2 separate regions of the Homo sapiens genome follow, and region 1 is linked to region 2. The links are contacts of gene promoters, found by promoter capture Hi-C in human tissues and cell types (Jung and others, 2019). All regions are on one chromosome and are shown on one strand. Each heading gives the region's core, a stretch centred on a gene start or on the middle of the fragment in contact. The rest is flanking DNA. Distances are from core to core; before and after follow the strand shown.

Region 1 (6,355 bases), core at 3,194-5,693, 1.2 Mb before region 2:
ACGCCCAGCTAATTTTTCTACTCTTTTCTTTTTGAGACAAGGTCTCATTCTGTCACCCAGGTTGGAGTGTAATGGTGCAATCATAGCTCACTGCATTCTTGAACTCCTGGGCTCAAGCGATCCTCCCACCTCAACCTCCTAAGTAGCTGGGACCACAAGCGTGCACCACCACACCCAGATAATTTTTTTTATTTTTTGTAGAGAAAGGGTCTCCCTATGTTGCTCAGGCTAGTCTCGAACTCCTGGCCTCAAGCAATCTTCCTGCCTCGGCCTCCCAAAGTGCTGGGGTTACAGGCATGAGCCACTGCACCTGGCCCTGCATGACTTTTCTTCATAGCTCTTATCATTATCTGATTTTTATTTTGCTTTCTATCTTTCTCCTCTCATTTATACGCCACAGAAGGGCAGGGGTTGTGTTTGGTTCACTCTATAATCCAGTACCTAGAACAGTGCCTGGCACCACTGAAGCACTTATATATCTTTTGAATGAATGAGTCAGTGAGTGAATGAATGGAGTTCTTGCAAATGCCAGTGGATTTAGGGAGTTTCCATGTGGGGCTCTAGAAAGATAATCTCAATGTGGGAAAATACGGGATTAGCTGATTAGTCACAATGTACAAAAGGCACGCTTGCCTAATTTTTGGAGGTGAGCACTTTTCCCTCAGGACTAAGGAACCAAGCTAATAAGAAAATTTCCCTCAAAAGCCAGGACAGACTATAGGTCACAGAGCCAGTATCCCAACCTGCCTCTGAATAAGAAACACCCAAGTGCTTTTGTCTTTATAACTGTCAAGAGCGCTACCTTCAACTCTGTGGCTTCCAGCCCCCATGGGTGGCGCCCAGGAATTGCTACCTGGGACAGTCTGAGGTGGGTGGCTGGGGCTGGTGGTGATGACATAGAGGACTTTGGAGGACCGGGCAGCGCTGACACTGAGGTTGGCCTGCTCCGTGATCACCTCGGCCACCGTCTGGTTGACAGCGGGCCTCTCCTGTGGCAGTTCTTCCTTGACGGCTGGAAGAGAAAAAGCAATTAACTGGGGACAGGGCTATGGAGACAACAAAGAGTTGTGCGGGAGGAGAGCACGAGTTATGAAGAAGAGTTCTTCTCTGATTCAATTCTGGGTGCAATTCCTTCCATAGGTGGGTCCCACCAGCCCCAAAACAGAACCTGTCAGGCTGTCACCCTTTAGAAGGCAGAAGGATGAACCTGTCAACTTCACAGAATGTGGCTAGTCTCATCTCAGACACCTGGGCATGGTTTACAGCTTCTCTGCCCCTGTACTTGGCAGCTATGGCTCCCTATGCCTGGAAGGTTCGCTTTTTTCCTATTGATCCAAATGCTACCTGTTCCTCAAGACTGTCCCACCTGGAGAGAGGGCCTCTTCCCATGGGTCTCCTGGAGCACACACTACCTGAACTCTTCTTGAGGTTTGCTATCCAGGACAAAGACAATGTCTCAAACACCTTCTGTGTTTCTTGTGTCCTGGCAAAGAGATGTGCCCGGCACACATGTGCTCACATTACAGAGGCAGAGAGTGTGGCTCCATCATAGCAGGGTTTGAAGATGGCAAGCCAGTCTTTTGGAATTAGCTAGGATGTTTAGAGGAAGGAGGACGGACCAGATGACCTTTTGATAACCTTCCAACTGTCCCAGTCTCAGCTGTTCCTTTTAGTTATTCTGTTTTTTTAAATTCTTTTAACCCTCCCATGAAAACTGTCATTAGACCTACTAAAATAGCCAAATTGACAGGTTTTCACCTCTTTTCTGTCTCATGAAACATAAATGAGTTATGAAATGGGGGTAGGGAAGGAGCCACAGCCTCGGGGTGATCTGCAAGTTGAGTCAGTAGTTCCTGAGGCCCAATCTGCCCCGCAAGAACTGCCCAAGTCACAAGGGTGAAGAAGAGAAGCCCAAGGCACGTGGGCCCTGAAGAACCCCCAAGGAGGCAAAGATGTCTTACCTTGGTATAAAACAGCAAATCCCTGGGCCTGATTGATGCGATCAGAGAAGAAATACAAGATGACGAAGTCCAGAGAGACGTTGAAGGACAGAGGTGGGCGGCTCCTCCCGTGGAAGCGGGCTAGGACACGGTGGGTGTAGCCATCCAGAAGCTCCACCATGTCCGCCGAGTCCCTGATGTCAAATAGGGGGAAGCTGAAGTGGATGTGGGAGGCCCCCGGAACCCGGATGGTCCAGTAGCAGACCCTCCCCGTGGCATAGGTGTCGGGGAAGTCAGGGGAATAGACCACAGAAGACATGGCTGAGTAGTTCCCACCGCAGGCGCCCACGAGAGCTGTAGGAGAGAAAAAGACACCACGCCCTCAGTCTGGGCCTTTGCCACAGGCGCGCTTCCAACACCAAGGCACTAAAGCCTTCCTAACGAGCAGGATCCCATTTAGGACATTGTTTCTATCTGTAAAACCTGACAGTCACAAAACGAATCGCTGAGACTCTCGAAAAATGACTGTGGAGATGTTTTTCCCCCCAGAGACCTTAGAATTAGCACACAGCACAGTGGTGTGGCCTAGGTTGGGGCAGGGCTGGAGTCAGAGAGTCTGGACTTGGGACTGGCAGGGCCAAGTGATGGCAGGGGCCGCACTTCACTCGCGGGCCTCTTGCTTCTCTCAGTTTCAAGGCTGGAGAGAGCACCATCTGCTCCTGTATCACGGGAATGTGTGATGGCACATGAGACAAAGCACACGAACCACTCAGGCCACTCTGCAGGGAAGCCACCCGATGAGGTAAAGCTGTCAAAAGAGAAGGGCTTTACAGCTGCTTGTGTGTCCCCAGTACCCATGCAACGCTCCCATGAGGGACCACGTTTTCAAGCAGGGAAACTGCAGCACAAGAAATGACTTTCTGCAGTGAGGAAACATGCTAGATTCTGAGCACTCTGTACTGGGCACATTTGCTTTCTCTGGACTCCTGTTTTTGATAGGCATGTTCTAGAAAGGGGATGCAGTGATTTCCTGTCTTACATGGTGAAATGTAAACAAGATCTTAGAACTGAAACTCCTTGGGAGGGAATGTAGGGCTAGGATTCTATTTTTTTTTTTTTTTGAGAAGGAGTCTCCGTCTGTCTCCCAGGCTGGAGTGCAGTGGTGTGATCTCGGCTCACTGCAACCTCCTTCTCCTGGGTTCACACCAATTCTCCTGTCTCAGCCTTCCGAGTAGCTGGGACTACAGGTGTCCACCACCAGGCTGGCTAACTTTTTTTGTATTTTTAGTAGAGATGGGGTTTCACCGTGTTAGCCAGGATGGTCTCGATCTCCTGACCTCGTGATCCACCCGTCCCGGCCTCCCAAAGTGCTGGGATTATAGGCATGTGCCACCGCACCCGGCCAGGGCTAGGATTTAAAAAGCAGGCTTTGGGGGAGTTCTGGTTCCCTTTAGGATGTAGAAAACAACAAGCAGTCCGGGCGCGGTGGCTCACGCCTGTAATCCCAGCACTTTGGGAGGCCAAGGCAGGTGGATCACCTGAGGTCAAGAGTTAAAGACCAGCCTGATCAATATGGTGAAACCCCGTCTCTACTAAAAATACAAAAATTAGCTGGGCGTGGTGGCGTGTGACTATAGTCCCAGCTACTAGGGAGGCTGAGACGGGAGAATTTCTTGAACCCGGGAGCTGGAGGTTGCAGTGAGCCGAGATCACGCTACTGCACTCCAGCCTGGGCAACAGAGTGAGGCTCTGTCTCAAAACAACAACAACAAGTGAATGCTGCTTCTATCCTAACAATGAGAAAAAGCTTAAAACTCAGCTGAGGTCTCATGACAACCAGGGGAACTTAATTCTACAAAATCAAAGCCCCATCAAGGAGAGTCAGGCCACACAAACAGTTTCATCTTTGAGAGAACACAGGAGGAAGAGGTGACCGCCAGAGAAGTAACAAGAAAGCACTAAAATTTTAACAAACTCTTAAAGGCTGAGAGTGGGCTAGTGTCTCAGCTTAGGGCAACTGGGAGTCCCAGACACAACGGGCATTTTGCACTCACTTGTGAGCTTTTCTGCACAGACCTCCACTCAGTGCTTTCACAAGTGACTCGGGTTGGCCAGCAGACCACAGTCCCCCTGAGTGGCATGAGTGTGCAGGAGGTGACAGGCTGCCACTGGCGGACAGGAATGGAATACTGCCCACTTCCTTCTCTTCACACTTGCAGGAAGGGACTCTCCTCTCTAAGAAAGTAAAAGCCTTCGGCAGCTGGGAGAGGGGAAGCAAATCCTGTTACTCCCAGGGCCACTGAAAACAGACAGAAGCAAAATCTGTTTGCCTCTGGGGGAGGGAGTAGACCTGATTTGACTAGAAAAGTCTATACCAAACACCATTTCACAAACCCAAATTTCAGCCTCCTTGAAATTCCCCTTCCTATCAAAGTAACCAGGTGAAGATTCACTGCTTCTAGGGGAAGAACAGAAGCAAAAGCCATTGGTCCCTGATTGCCTTGAGCCCTCTTGAGTCCAGGATACTGCAGCCGATGCAAAGCAGAGCTCTACTACTCCTGGAGGGAGGGCAAGAAATTCTCCTTCCCAAGATCCACCACAGACGCAAGGCAGTGTTTGGCTGCCAGGGAGAGAAGAAGGGTGTGGGAATGCTGAAAAGACCTCAGGCTGGTGGCCTTTACACATCCTGTCTAAGACTGAGGACAGGGCAGGAGAACCAAGAACCACCTCCATGACCTCACCATGAGTACAGCCAGGTAACAAACAGCCATAGCCTACCACTGAGGGAGGGAAAGAGGGTGGAGAAGGAGCCCCTCTGTGGCACAGGCATGTGGGAACTCCTCAAAGCTGAGGATGGAACAGGGCTACTGAGGAAAACTCACGGGTACTCTAGGCTCCACACTAAGCACAAGCTGATAGCAGCCCGTCACTGGAGGAATTTAAAGCCTGATGTGCATTGAGGGTAGTGATAGAAACAACCTAGCTCAACTTCTGATAGACTGGCTCAGTCCCTACACTATGCAGATCTGCCCAGGTGTAAACACTATCTCAGCCCCTAGTGTTCTTCTATACATAGCATATGGCATTCAATAAAAAATTACAACACACATATAAAAGCAAGGGTGGGAGGGGGGAAAGACATTGTTAAAACAATCTACAGAACTAGACTCAATGATGACCCAGATGCTAGAACGATCAGACAGAGACTACATGATGAATACGGTAAATAATCTACTGGAGGCAAGGCATGGTGGCTCATGCCTGTAATCCCAACACTTTGAGGGGCCACGGGAGGAGGATCTCTCAAGGCTAGGAGTTCAAAACCAGCCTGAGGAACACAGTGAGACCCCATCTCTACAAAAATTTTAAAATTAGCCAGGCATGGTGGTGTGTGCCTGCAGTCCCAGCTACTCAGGGTTCTGACGCAGGAGGATCACTTGAGCCCAGCAGGTCAAGGCTGCAGAGAGCTATGATTGCACCATTGCACTCCAGCCTAGGTGGCAGAGTGAGACCTTGTCTCTTAAAAAAAAAAAAAATCTACTGGAAATCAAACAATATTGGAGATGAATTTTTTTTTAATTATAGAATGCTTCATGAATTCGCATGTCATCCTTGCACAGGGGCCATGCTAATATACTCTGTTTTGTTCCAATTTTAGTATATGTGCTGCTGAAGCAAGCACTGAAGAATTCCTTTGATGGGCTTATCAGGATACTAGACACAGCTGAGGAAAGAATCAATAAACATGAAGACAGGTCAATAGAAATTATCCCCAAATGAAACAAAGGGGAAAACAAAGTGAAACAAAGAGAACAGAGCTCCCAACAGCTGTAGGACAATATCAAATAGTCTAACATACGTGTAATTGCAGTGCCAAAAGAAGAAAAAAAGAATGGAACAGAAGAAATGTTTGAAGAGATAATGGTGAAAAATGTTCCAAAATCAGTAAAAGGTGACAAACTACAGATCCAAGAATTTCAGCAAACCCAAGCAAACAAAAAAATTAAAAACAAAAACAAAAGCAAAAAAAACAAACAAAAAAAAACAGACAAAGAAGACACACCTAGACACATCATAGTTAAATGTTGAAAACCAGTCTGGGCATGGTGGCTCATGCCTGTAATCCCAGCACTTTGGGAGGTTAAGGCAGGAGGACTGCTTGAGCCCAGGAGTTCAAGATCAGTCTGGGTAACATAGTGAGACCCTATCTCTATACAAAATTAAAAACTTAGCTGGGTATGGTGGCACATGCCCATAATCCCAGCTACTCAGGAGGCTAAGGCAGGAGGATTGCTTGAGCCCAGGGGGGTCGAGGCTGCAGTGGGCCATGACTGCACTACTGCACTCTAGCCTGGGTGACAGAGTAAGACCCTGTCTCAAAAAAAAAAAAAAGTTGAAAACCAAAACCAAAGATA
Region 2 (6,132 bases), core at 1-2,500:
ATTTTTTTGGAGGCAGCCCTAACTCCACAGATGTATTCCACTATCAGATACACCAGATGTTTATACAAAAATGTTTTCGTGATATTTTAATCGTCTTAATAGCCTTTCAACAGGTTCTCATGGTTCTTAGAAGACAAATTCTTTACTATGGCCTAGTAATCCAGTTGGTCCCAGCTCATTTCCCACCCTCACTTAGGATGTTCTGGCCACATCTGCCCTCTAGCTGATCCTTGAACACCCTAGGCTTACTCCATCCTCGGGTCATATTTCCCTCCAACTGGAATGCCCCTCTCACATCCTAACAGGCTAGGCTCAAACACCGCCTCCTAAGACAGCCCTTGTCTTGAGTCCTCTGCTTCTCCCAGTACTCCACTGTATTCATAGCATAGCACTTCCCCACCACCCCAAATTCTCCCTGCTTTCTTTCCAAGTGAGTTGTCTCCTCTAGACTGTGAGCTTCTTGAGAACAGGGACTGTGTCTGCTTCTAGATGCATCCCCACTGCCTAGAACCGTGTCTGACACAGAGCAAGCCAGCGACCTCCGGGCTGCGGCTTTGAGGCCCACGGCGCTTTCGGTGTAACTGCGCGAACCAACTCCTGAACAGCCCGCTTTCCTGGGTCTCGAGGCCAAGGGCCTCTTTTCTCCCAGAGGGCCTCCGTCGGGAGTGCTGGCCGCTCATCCTGCCGAGTCACAGGTGAGGTTTAGGATTCTCCGCCGCGGTGGACCTCCACGAGACCGCGAAGCAGGTGAACGTCCTCCCGCGGAACCTGAGCTGCCAAGGGCTGGGGAGGGGAACAGAAGCTGGCGTCGGCTGCCTCCAGAACCTGTCAGGAGTCTTTTATGTGGACTATGGAGGTGAGGTGTCGGTCAAGGAGGTGGGCCCTGACTCGGAGCAGTGAGAGAGAGCAGAAAACCAGTCACCGCAAAACGGCTTCCAAAGAACCAACTGGAAAACTCACCGGAAAGCGTAGGCTGCCCAGACGCCCCGAGGGACCAAAGCTGAAGGGAGGAGCCCTCGTAAGCAGACAAGAGTGCGCGCGTCGAGCTTGCGCAGCCGCAGTAGAAGCCGCACGCTCTTCGGCAGGCTGCGCAACCGCAGTGGAGGCCTCGTGTGCCCGGGGTGGGGCACGAAACTGGGCGGAGCTAGGCCCCCTCGCGCGCTGACGCGACTGGTCGCGGCGGAAGGGTGTAAGCACGCAGGCGCGATGGTGGCTCGGGGGGGCAGGGAGGCGGGGCCGCGCAGGCGCTGTGAGAGGCGGTAGCGGCGGCGGCGGCGGTGGTATCGGCGGCAGCTGTGAGGGGGTTCCGGGAAGATGGTGCTGATCAAGGAATTGTGAGTGGGTCTGTGGGCGCGAGCGAGGCCGTGGGACGGCAGTGATGGGAGATTTGTTGATGGAGAAGTGGTAGGATATTCCTAAATCGGAGTCAGCCCTGTGTCAGCCCCTCCCTGCGGGCGCCCCCTCCCTCCCCCGGCCCCTTCGAAGCCCCTCAGCGAGTGCGCCCCTCGGCCCTCCAGGCATTGCCGTGGTAACACGCCCTCTCCCTTCCCCGGGGCGAAGGCGGCTGGGTCCCGGCCCGAGCGCATGGCTCGGGAAGGCGCGGCCGGGAGTTTCCGCTGGGACCCGCCTTCTCCCCAACCCCCCACCCCCAGGCTGGGTCTGGGCCCACCCCCAGGCCCGCCGGTGGGAAGGAGCCGCAGTCCGAGGGTGGGAGAGACACGTTGGTTCTGACTGTGATTTGTCGTCCGGGGTGGAGTCCCCTGGTAACCAGCGGGAGATGGGCTTGCCGGTTGAAGGCAGCCCTCGTGTCAGGACTCGCGGTGGGACGCTGGCGCCTTGAAGTTCGTGGTGGAGCCGGGATTCCGGAAAGCCTCCGCTCTCCTGGGCAGCTCCGCTGACTTGACGGGAGAGCCTTTTCTCTTTTTGGTTTCCGCATGTTTTAAGATGAGGTGACATCCCGGGCCCCACCTACTTTCTTAGAAGTTAACACGTGCTCTGTCAAATGGAGGGATTTCGAGGTGCATCCGACTGGCCAAGTGATTTTGTTGAAAAGTCACGGCTTTTCCTACTGGCAAGGACTGTAAACATTACGGAAATCTGCTTGCCTCTGAATGTTCGTCTGTCACAGCTGGTTCGTGTCGTCAGCATCCTTTGGGCAGCTAGGGAGGTCGAGTATGGCCCATTCGTTGGTTTTCAAATTCTTCATTTTAAATTCTTAGAAATATTTTTGGCTTAATTTAGCTTTTTTCAGACACCTTATTTTTAGTGTTCTTAAACCTCCTTTAAAAAGTCACTGATGCACTTCTCTGAGACTTAATACCTCCCAAAGACTCCCTGTCTCACCCAGAATAAAAGTCAAAGCCTCTGCAACAGCTACAAGGCTTTACACTTTTTTTTCCTGCCCTGATCTCATTTACTACCTTTTCCTTGCCCATTCCATCTTCGCAAGCTTCCTTGCTGTTCCTCTGCTACTCTAGAATAAGTTCAGTTCAAGACCTTTCCACCTGCTTTTGTTCCCTTTGCTTGAAGTGTTCTTCCCTTGGCACACTAACTCACCTTCTTCCAGGTCTTTGCTCAGACGTCACCTTCTCAGGGAATCCCTTTCTGAAGACCTAATTGTAGTTCCCACTATTTGGGGTGGTATTTGTCTTCCCTGCTTTATCGGTCTCCATAGTACTTATCACCATCCAACATGCCAATACAATTTATTATTATTATTTTTCTCCTACTAGTTGTGTTCTCTTTTTACATGTAAGGGCCATGAGTTTGTTTTGCTCACTCTCATATCCCCAGTTTTTAGAATAGTCCCTCGCATGTAATAGGTGCTCAGTAAATATTTGTTAATGAATTGATGAAAAATGATAACTTTGGTCAGTGACAGGGATTTTGAGAAGAGACATTTTGCCTTTTTTTGGTAGAGTGAAAATTCTCAATTAAAGCTTATTTATAGTACTGAATATTGGGTTTATATAAAACTTTTCTTCCAAGTCGTTTATACAGTGTATCAAACAAGTGTTCATTACTCTGACTTCTAGATGATGTGGGTAGATGGGTGGCAGACACTAAAACAAATGGAGAAAATAAGAAGGAAATTGACTTGGACCAAGTTACACAGCAAGTGAGTTGCAGAACTGATTTTAAATAGATCCAGTCATTTTTCTTTCATTGGAGTATTTCCTCCCTCCAAAAGTGTTACAGACACACAGTATTCAGTAGATCCCTTTGACAGTATGTGAGTAGTATGAAGCTAACTCTTGGAAAGCAGTTCCTATTGGGAATTTGCGCACTGTGCTTTTTGCAAACATTTGCTTTCATTATGAAGATTTAAATGTACCCAGATAATGAATGTTGACACGTGCCCAAAGTCTAATTATTTTTCCCAAAGAGTTATAAATTAAGTTTCTTGATGTTAACTCTTCATGTGTATCTCCCCTAGATTTTTTTTCCTCCTAGACTTTTTGAAGGTAGAAGCTGTTTCTTAAGTAATGTCGGTATCTAGCACAGCATCTAGGCCTAACATGCTCTAAAGAATTCAGTGTTGTTCAATGAAAAATTGATACTTCTTACTCTCAAGTCAACTTTCTAAAATTCTTGTTGGTTAGGAGCAATGAATAGCTTATTCCTATGTGAAGATATTGGTAACTAAAATACTTTGGCAAATGTTTGTTGTCTTATAAAATTCTTTTTTATTTTTATGTTTTTTTTTTGAGGCGGAGTCTCTGTTGCCCAGGCTGGAGTGCAGTGGCATGATCTCTGCTCACTGCAACCTCCGCCTCCCAGGTTCAAGCGATTTTCCTGCCTCAGCCTCCCAAGTAGCTGGGACTACAGGCGCACGCCACCATGACCGGCTAAATTTTTTGTATTTTTAGTAGAGACAGGGTTTCACCCTGCTGGCCAGGCTGGTCTGGAACTCATGACCTCAGGTGATCCGCCCACTAAGTGCTGGGATTACAGGTGTGAGTCACCGCACCTGGCCCTCTATTTATTTTTTTATAAGAATTAAAATGTTAGAAATGACTTTCGAGGTGGGCTGTTTCCCTTCAAGTTATTATTTAAGCAGTAGATGAAGTTACCATTAATGTAAAGTCCTGGTTTTAAAGAACTAGTTACTGATTCCATTTGGAAATTATTTTTATGAGGATTTTCAGACATTTGAACATTTTCAACTGGCACTGAAAGTTGAATACTGCTTTTAGAATAACAACAGAAAATCAAAGCCTGTATGTTCCTTTTCCCTTTTACTTGTTAAGCAAATCTTGAAGAAGTTACTTGACTCATTGTTCTGAATGTCTTAATCAGTCACTTTAATTTTTTGAAAGAATTTCCTTGAAAGTGTTCTTAAATAAAAATAGGGATCTTCCTGTTAGTGAGTGTAAAATTACTCAGCAGTGATTCTTTGGTTTTGTGAAACTTAAGGGAAGACTAACTCTTCTTTCTCTATCCCTTCCTTCCATTCCCTCTGCAGTCCATCATCTTGGTTCAGGCCTTTGTGACAGTTCTTGCCTAGCCTCCCAAAAGATAGCTTTCCCCACTTCTCCTGCTTGTCAGTGTTTTCAACCACCTGCAGATGACTTCTTCAGGTCAGCAGTAGTTGTCACTTACCTCTTGGACCAACCTTTTGGGATTCCTTATTGCCTGATGAATTTAATGGATTTCTTACCATAGTATTCCAGGTCCTGATAATCTGCTCCCAACCTATAGCTTTCTAGTCTTCCTCTCCCTCATTTTATGCTCTGGGACAGTGAGCAAGTTAGTGTATACTGAGAAGAGAAATGATTCGGAATTTTTAGGTATAGAAGGACTTACAAAAAGTTTATTCTTGATGGAGAGTAGAAATTAGTGACCATTGTGGATTTGAGAGTGTTCATTGTTTTTGAATCACCGTTACCAGAAAGACAAAGAGTGGCGAGTAACTCAGTAGTCAAAGGGGAGGGAGTAACAGACTTGTGCATGTTGGAGATTGAGGTAATGTGAACATTCAGACATAGATGTTTGAGGAGAGTAGGGAGAAAGGAGTAGATGGAAAGTGTAGCTGGAATGCAAACTAGATATAATCTGGGTTTTATTACTCTCTTCATACTTACGAATAAGAAAGACTATTAAAAAAGAATGCCTAGGCCAAAAAGATTGTCACTAATACAAACAATAAGCTAAATGACTCTTACTGCAAGAAAAAAAGAAAAAGAAATTATAAGCTGAAAAGAAATTGGAATGAGGAAAACTATTGAAAATTTTCCATAAAATGACAGATAAGATTAGGAAAGTATGAGAAGGATCGTATACCCCCATCCCACAAAAAAGGAAGTTGCTGTCTTGGAACCAACTATAATTATGAGACCATTGATATACAGGGATGTTCTTGGTTTTCAGGATTTATGGTGGAAATAAATTAAGGACTCTCCTTATAAAATCTAGAGATAAGATGCAATATTTTGATAAAACAATATACCATGATACTGTTTTGGATTTTATCTTTTAAGACTGCTTGCAATGGAGCTATAATGACATCTTTTTGGTATATACAATAAGAAACTCTTGGACAGGATGAAACACATGTCAACCTTATATTGTATATATGCTGGAAGGGATTATTATAAGGTTCAAGTAGTTTCCATAGTAAAATTTTTCTTACTAATTCTACACGACTCCTTATTTTTCTCTTAGTAAACTTGAGGAATAATTGAATAGTGGGGGAACAGTTTCTGGAAGCGTTTATTCAATGAGATTCAAGACACGTATTCTGTAAGAAGCATCATAAAAACAAAATGCACAGTATATAGGTGGAGAATGAAACCATACTAAAAATTTAGTCAGGGCAACCTGACCAGACAATCTGCAAATAATACGTTCTGTACCCTGCAATTTTCAATGTTGAGTTTTCTCTTTTTTCTTTACTCACAAGAATCTCTGCAGCTGCTGTTTGGGGTCCTGGGAACACTAAATGCAAATGATCATTGAGACCCAGGAATGATAGTTTTAGTTCCCCAATTATGGTGTAGGCATTGCAAAGACCCTCTTCCATAAATGACACCCTTGTATTTTTTTGATTTAAGAGACCTGTCTCTGTTATCATTGGATTTAAGGTAAAACCTCTTCAGAGATCTGTGTTTAAAGCTATTTCATATGTAATAT

What was found. The method cuts DNA at HindIII sites, captures the fragments that hold promoters and counts their contacts. A contact is called where the count stands out against the background at its distance.
Region 1: a fragment that was not itself captured here is called in contact with the fragment with the promoter of PITPNB in region 2 in 1 of the 25 tissues and cell types used here (dorsolateral prefrontal cortex).

What each region holds. Positions count from the first base shown.
Region 1 is chr22:29,133,281-29,139,635 of GRCh38, reverse strand. It overlaps KREMEN1 (kringle containing transmembrane protein 1), which reads right to left. Exons shown (of 9, transcript NM_001039570.3): 6 at 1,962-2,294; 7 at 854-1,012. It also overlaps the pseudogene RNU6-810P. Among named protein-coding and RNA genes, the nearest start is that of KREMEN1, 63 kb to the right of the region's middle. The HindIII fragment of the contact is 6,321 bases long and covers 1,283-6,355 here.
Region 2 is chr22:27,914,374-27,920,505 of GRCh38, reverse strand. It overlaps PITPNB (phosphatidylinositol transfer protein beta), which reads left to right and starts at 1,250. Exons shown (of 12, transcript NM_012399.5): 1 at 1,250-1,334. The coding sequence starts at 1,315. It overlaps TTC28-AS1 (TTC28 antisense RNA 1), which reads right to left and starts at 1,130. Exons shown (of 5, transcript NR_026963.1): 1 at 961-1,130. RefSeq lists enhancers at 730-909, 80-1,064, 1,065-2,050 and silencers at 1,220-1,289, 1,480-1,799. The HindIII fragment of the contact is 4,438 bases long and covers 1-2,694 here.